2 separate regions of the Homo sapiens genome follow, and region 2 is linked to region 1. The links are contacts of gene promoters, found by promoter capture Hi-C in human tissues and cell types (Jung and others, 2019). All regions are on one chromosome and are shown on one strand. The core of a region is centred on a gene start or on the middle of the fragment in contact, and the rest is flanking DNA. Distances in the headings are between cores, read along the strand shown.

Region 1 (2,820 bases), core at 240-2,739:
CAGATTTATCTGCACAAACATCTCCACTTTTGGGGGAAAGGTGGGTAGATTCCAGTTCCCTGGACTACCTTCAGGAGGCACGAGAGCTGGGAGAAGAGGCAAAGCTACAGGTTTACTTGGGAGCCAGCTGAGAAGAGAGCAGACTCACAGGTGCTGGTGCTTGGATTTAGCCAGGCTCCTCCGAGCACCTCATGCATGTCCCAGCCCCTGGGCCCTAGCCCTTTCCTGCCCTGCAGTCTGCAGTGCCAGCACGCAAATCCCTTCACCACAGGGTTTCGTTTTGCTGGCTTGAAGACAAATGGTCTTAGAATTCATTGAGACCCATAGCTTCATATGGCTGCTCCAGCCCCACTTCTTAGCATTCTTACTCCTCTTCTGGGGCTAATGTCAGCATCTATAGACAATAGACTATTAAAAAATCACCTTTTAAACAAGAAACGGAAGGCATTTGATGCAGAATTTTTGCATGACAACATAGAAATAATTTAAAAATAGTGTTTGTTCTGAATGTTGGTAGACCCTTCATAGCTTTGTTACAATGAAACCTTGAACTGAAAATATTTAATAAAATAACCTTTAAACAGTCCATTGTGTTACTGCTGTTGGAGGTTTACGGCCAGAGGCGTAGATTTTAGCAGCCTGGCTTACCAGGTTGGAGAGAGTACCTCCTCCTACTCCCTTTGGGTACTTTTGAGAATAAAACTTCCTCATGCCTGTAATCCCAGTACTTTGGGAGGCCGACGCGGGCGAATCACGAGGTCAGGAGTTCGAGACCAGCCTGGCTAATATGGTGAAACCCCGTCTCTACTAAAAAATACAAAAAATTTAGCTGGGCATAGTGGCGGGCGCCTGTAATCCCAGCTGCTCGGAAGGCTGAGGCAGGAGAATCGCTTGAACCTGGGAGGGGGAGGTTGCAGTGAGCCGAGGTCGCGCCACTGCACTCCAGCCCAGGCGACAGAGTGAGACTCCGTCTCAAAAAAAAAAAAAAAAAAAAAAAAAAAAAAAAAAAACTTCTCATAAACAGCCTCCAAACAGCGCTCGGTGCTGCGCAGGCGACGCGGGGCGGGGAGGGAGGGTGAGTGCCCTGGGAGCCGGCTGAGGGCCTCGCCCCGCCCCTGGTCCCGCCTCCGGTTAGGCCGCTCCGCCTCTTACTCCTCCCCTCCCCCGAGTGGGCCGGCCCGGCTCCCCCTCCGCGGGGCTGAGTGGATGAGCCCAGGCCTGAGCCCGCCCCTGCTCCGAAGTCGTGGTCCCCGACGCTCGGCCGGCAGTGCCATCGCGCGGAGAGGAGGGGGTGCGCTTCCGCGGGCGGGGCGCGGAGCCCGCCGTCTCGGAGGCCGCGGCTCGGCCCGGCACTGCGGAGGGCCGCTTGATTTCCCGGAACCCAGGTCGCGCGGCTGCTAGGGCCGGAGCCGGTGGATCCGAGCGGGTGCCACCAGCGGCGGCGCGCCGCCTCCCCCGGTGGGAGCGGTGGTTGGGCCAGGCTGCGGCAGAGCGTTCGCTCGGAGATGGCGGAGCAGCCGCGACGCGGCCCGTGGCCCCGAAAGCAGGGAAGCCGGGCAGCCCCGGGACGCGGCGGAGCCCGGGGACAGCGGGGACGCCGCCCAGTCCTCCGGGTGAGCCGCCCCTGAGGAGACCCCCCCGCCCACGGTCGCGCTCAGGCCCCCCCAACAGACTCCCTTGGATGTTGCCACCATCACCACCCGCAGGGTCGTCCCGGGCGGCCCAGCGTGCGCCGCGCCCCGGGTCCTTTCCGCCGGCCTCCCTCAGAACCGCCTCGCTCCCCTCCGGACCGGGCGGGCTCCCTTCTTCCCGCAGGGCTCTCCCAGCCCAGAGGCTGTCTCGATGTCACCCCGGAGTCGCCGCCGCGCGCCTGTGGCCCCTTCCCCTTTGGTGTCCCACATCCGGTGCGCTCTTCGCATCCACCTGTGCCCCCGTCTCCTCTCGGCGGGGCCCCTCCACCCGCCAGCCCCGGGCCCCCTCGGCGCCCGCAGCCTCCGCGCCGCTGCTCCGGCCGTCCCGGCCTCCCCAAGCCCGGGCCCGGCCCCGGCCCCCGTCTGGCTTCGCCGTCCTCAGAGATCTCCCGCACACACCCACCCCGCCCAGCCCTGCTGGCCCTCAGTGTTCACTGGCCCGGCCTGCGGCGCTCCCGGCGCCCCTTCCCTAAACCTTGCTGCTTCTTCCAGGTATGAAGCTAAAATGCAGCGGCTAAGAACGCGGCTCTGGAGCTTGACAGGCCTGACGTCGAATCCCAGCCCTCCCACCAACTGAGCTGTGTGATCCTGGGCAAGGTTCTAAGCTTCTCTGAGTTACTCATATGTGAAATGGGGATAATGGAGCATGTACCTTTTCCCTACCTCTTAGGGCTGGTGTGAAGATTAAATATATGTGAAGCTCTTAGAAGAATGGCTGGCAAGTTGTAATTTCTCAAATACGGGATGATACACCCTGAGTATCAACTTCCCGTCAGTGACCTCCTCACTACAATGTTTTCTCTAAAGTTGCATCACATTCTTAGCATTCACCCCTTCCCGTCACCATTTTGATCCTCTCCCCCAGCTGTCTTCTCGTGTCGTTTTACCTAGGCCAAAGCTGAACTGTTTTATTTTTATTTTTATTTTTATTTTTTTTTGAGCTGGAGTCTAGCTCTGTCACCCAGGCTGGAGTACAGTGGCACAATCTCAGCTCACTGCAATTTCCGCCTCCCACGTTCAAGTGATTCTCCTGCCTCAGCCTCCTGAGTAGCTGGGACTACAGGCGCCCACCACCATGCCCATCTAATTTTTGTATTTTTAGTAGAGACGGGGCTTCACCATGTTGGCC
Region 2 (2,700 bases), core at 15-2,514, 260 kb before region 1:
CCAGCAGAAGATCCCAAGATGTCAAGTTTATCATCCGAGATTTCTCTCAACATGTAGCTTGGATTTGCCAACCCCCAAACATAAAGAAGAAAAAAATAATGTCTGGGCATGGTGGCTCACGCCTGTAATCCCAACACTTTCGGCGTGATCTCGGCTCACTGCAACCTCCGCCTCCTGGGTTTGAGCAATTCTCCTGCCTCAACCTCCTGAGTAGCTGGGATTATAGCCGTCTGCCACCAATCCTGGCTAATTTTTGTTTTGTTTTGTTTTTAGTAGAGACGGGGTTTTGCCATGTTGGCCAGGCTGGTCTCGAACTCCTGACCTCAGGTGATCCACCCACCTCGGCCTCCCAAAGTGCTGGGATTACAGGAGTGAGCCACTGTGCCCAGCCTCCTGAACTCTTATACTCATATGTCCTTTTTTAGCTACTACTTGAAACACCAAAGCAGGTAGCTGGAAGTCACAATGACATGAGTCACCAGATTTTTATAATAAAGTTGCCTTCTGAGAAATAACTAATTAACCCACAACTTGACTAAGATAATTCATATAAACCATGAGCTGTCTGGCATATACTAGACACTCAATAAGTGCTACTCCCTTTTGCTAGTCGAGAGAGCAGCTACCATGTTTGCATTTCAGAGCACTACTCAATGGGAAGGTAGTCCCAGCTGGTGACTAAAGAACTGATCTACTCATGATGTAAACAACAGTTAAATATCTTTTAGGAAAAATTGGATTAATACACACTAAAAAGGGCTCTGAGTTCATGTCTTTATCATATGATGCTCTATAATATCCATTCCAGCTCCTAATTATTTTTCTATAACACAAAGGTGTGAAAATTTAATATCCTAGGCTAGAGTTTATAGAGGAGAGTCCACCTCCCAGCAAAGGGGCTTGTTAGAGCTTTAGGAGAACAGAATTAGGCCACAGAAAGGCAATTTCAAACAAAGAACAGGAGAAGGACAGCATTAGAGAAGAAGACTGGTTCTCAGCCAATCAGCTACAGCCATCATGTGATAACCAATCAATCGGGTCTCATTTTTACCTAGGCTGAAGGACATGCAGTGAAGCCACAAAAGAAAATGAACCTCAGGCCAGGAGCCATGGCTCACGCATGTAATCCCAGCACTCTGGGAGGCTGAGGCAGGCAGATCACGAGGTCAAGAGATCAAGACCATCCTGGCCCACATGGTGAAACCCCGTCTCTACTGAAAATACAAAAATTAGCTGGGCATGGCAGTGCGCACCTGTAGTGCCTGCTACTCAGAAGGCTGAGGCAGGAGAATCGCTTGAACCCAGGAGGCAGAGGTTGCAGTGAGCCGAGATCGCACCACTGCACTCCAGCCTGGCAACAGAGTGAGACTTCATCTCAAAAAAAAAAAAAAGAAAAGAAAACAAAAGAAAACAAAATGAACCTCAGAGTTTAGAACATGCTAACATTTTTCCCCCCTATAAAATAAAGTACAGGCAGGAAGTACCTGAAATGAGAACTGGCAGCAACTCTTTCACGGTGTTCATCGAGTTCACCAACATCACTCGGTGCTCCTGGTGAGTGAGCTCCTGCTGTCTCTCGTCAATCATCTTGGCCATCTTAGTCATTCCTGGGGCACAAAGAAGAAATTGTGCAGGGTGAGTAGTGAAACAATCCCGGGTCTGGCTTTCTCAGTCTAAATCCATTATGAAATACTATGAAAGTTCAAACCGATTGCTCACTTATTTAAACAACAGACACCATCACTGAACTCTAATTTATGCAACATTACTCTTTTCAATGAAAGTAATGTATTAAATGTAAACACTAAATGTGATAAACATTTTCATATTTTGATATAAATATATTCACAAATATTAAACATCTAAATGAATAAATATATATTTATTAAAAAGAAATTCACAGGTAAGGGAAAAACATTTTGCCAGGCTTCTATGCATACAGGTTTCATGCCATGTCTCTGAACTCTGTGCTAAAAATCTCACATGAGCCTAGTACTGAATCTAGTGGCTGAAAAAAGTTCTAAGAATAACAATGATATGTTTTGTTTTCATATTTCTATTTGTCTGTACTTTCCAATTTGTCCAAAATAAGCATGTACTAGTTTTATAATTAGAAACAAATAGAAATATTATAAAAATAATTATAGGGATGACAGTGTTTGAAAGCATCTGGTGTTTTGGAATCACTCTGCTAGCACTTTTTGTTTATGTTGGTTGTTATTCAAAGGCGCTATGTGATTCTCTAAAGCTTTGATTTTCAAATTACTCCTAGGATTTCTCAAGTTGTCTCACAGACCATCAAGACCAAAGAGAAGCAGAGGTGGGGCTGCTCCTGCTTCACCTAAAGTAGCTCCATTTTGTCTTTTTTTGTTTGGGGATTCTGCATAAGATTCCATTTGGGGAAATATAATTTTCGCCAGTATTATGAGAAATTTTAAGAGGACTACTCTAAAGCCACCAGAGAAACCTATTTCCAGGTGATCTTCAGTGATGGCTCAAATTCTTAACTGCCATTAAGTTTTACAGAACACCTACACTGGAACCTCATAAAAATGCTGTTAATTAAAAATCAACATTTCACATAAAACAAATGAATTTTATAAAGTGATAACAATCAAGTTAAGCAGGTTAAACATCTAACATATCTTGTCATTGGTCTCATTCATACTTTAAAGACCCTCAAGTTCATGTTATATGTCT

The links. The method cuts DNA at HindIII sites, captures the fragments that hold promoters and counts their contacts. A contact is called where the count stands out against the background at its distance.
Region 2: a contact is called between a fragment that was not itself captured here and the fragment with the promoter of NDST2 in region 1, in 2 of the 25 tissues and cell types used here (lymphoblastoid cells and spleen).

The regions. Positions count from the first base shown.
Region 1 is chr10:73,810,267-73,813,086 of GRCh38, reverse strand. NDST2 (N-deacetylase and N-sulfotransferase 2) reads left to right here and starts at 1,489. Exons shown (of 15, transcript NM_003635.4): 1 at 1,489-1,613; 2 at 2,184-2,288. CAMK2G (calcium/calmodulin dependent protein kinase II gamma) reads left to right here. Exons shown (of 23, transcript NM_001367534.1): 23 at 1-586. It overlaps NDST2-ZSWIM8-AS1 (NDST2-ZSWIM8-AS1 readthrough), which reads left to right and starts at 1,267. Exons shown (of 18, transcript NR_182658.1): 1 at 1,267-1,613; 2 at 2,184-2,288. RefSeq lists silencers at 975-1,684, 1,985-2,054. The HindIII fragment of the contact is 10,328 bases long and covers 1-2,674 here.
Region 2 is chr10:74,071,637-74,074,336 of GRCh38, reverse strand. It overlaps VCL (vinculin), which reads right to left. Exons shown (of 22, transcript NM_014000.3): 5 at 1,485-1,607. LOC124902458 (a long non-coding RNA gene) reads left to right here and starts at 1,559. Exons shown (of 2, transcript XR_007062200.1): 1 at 1,559-1,635; 2 at 2,273-2,587. The HindIII fragment of the contact is 3,366 bases long and covers 1-2,700 here.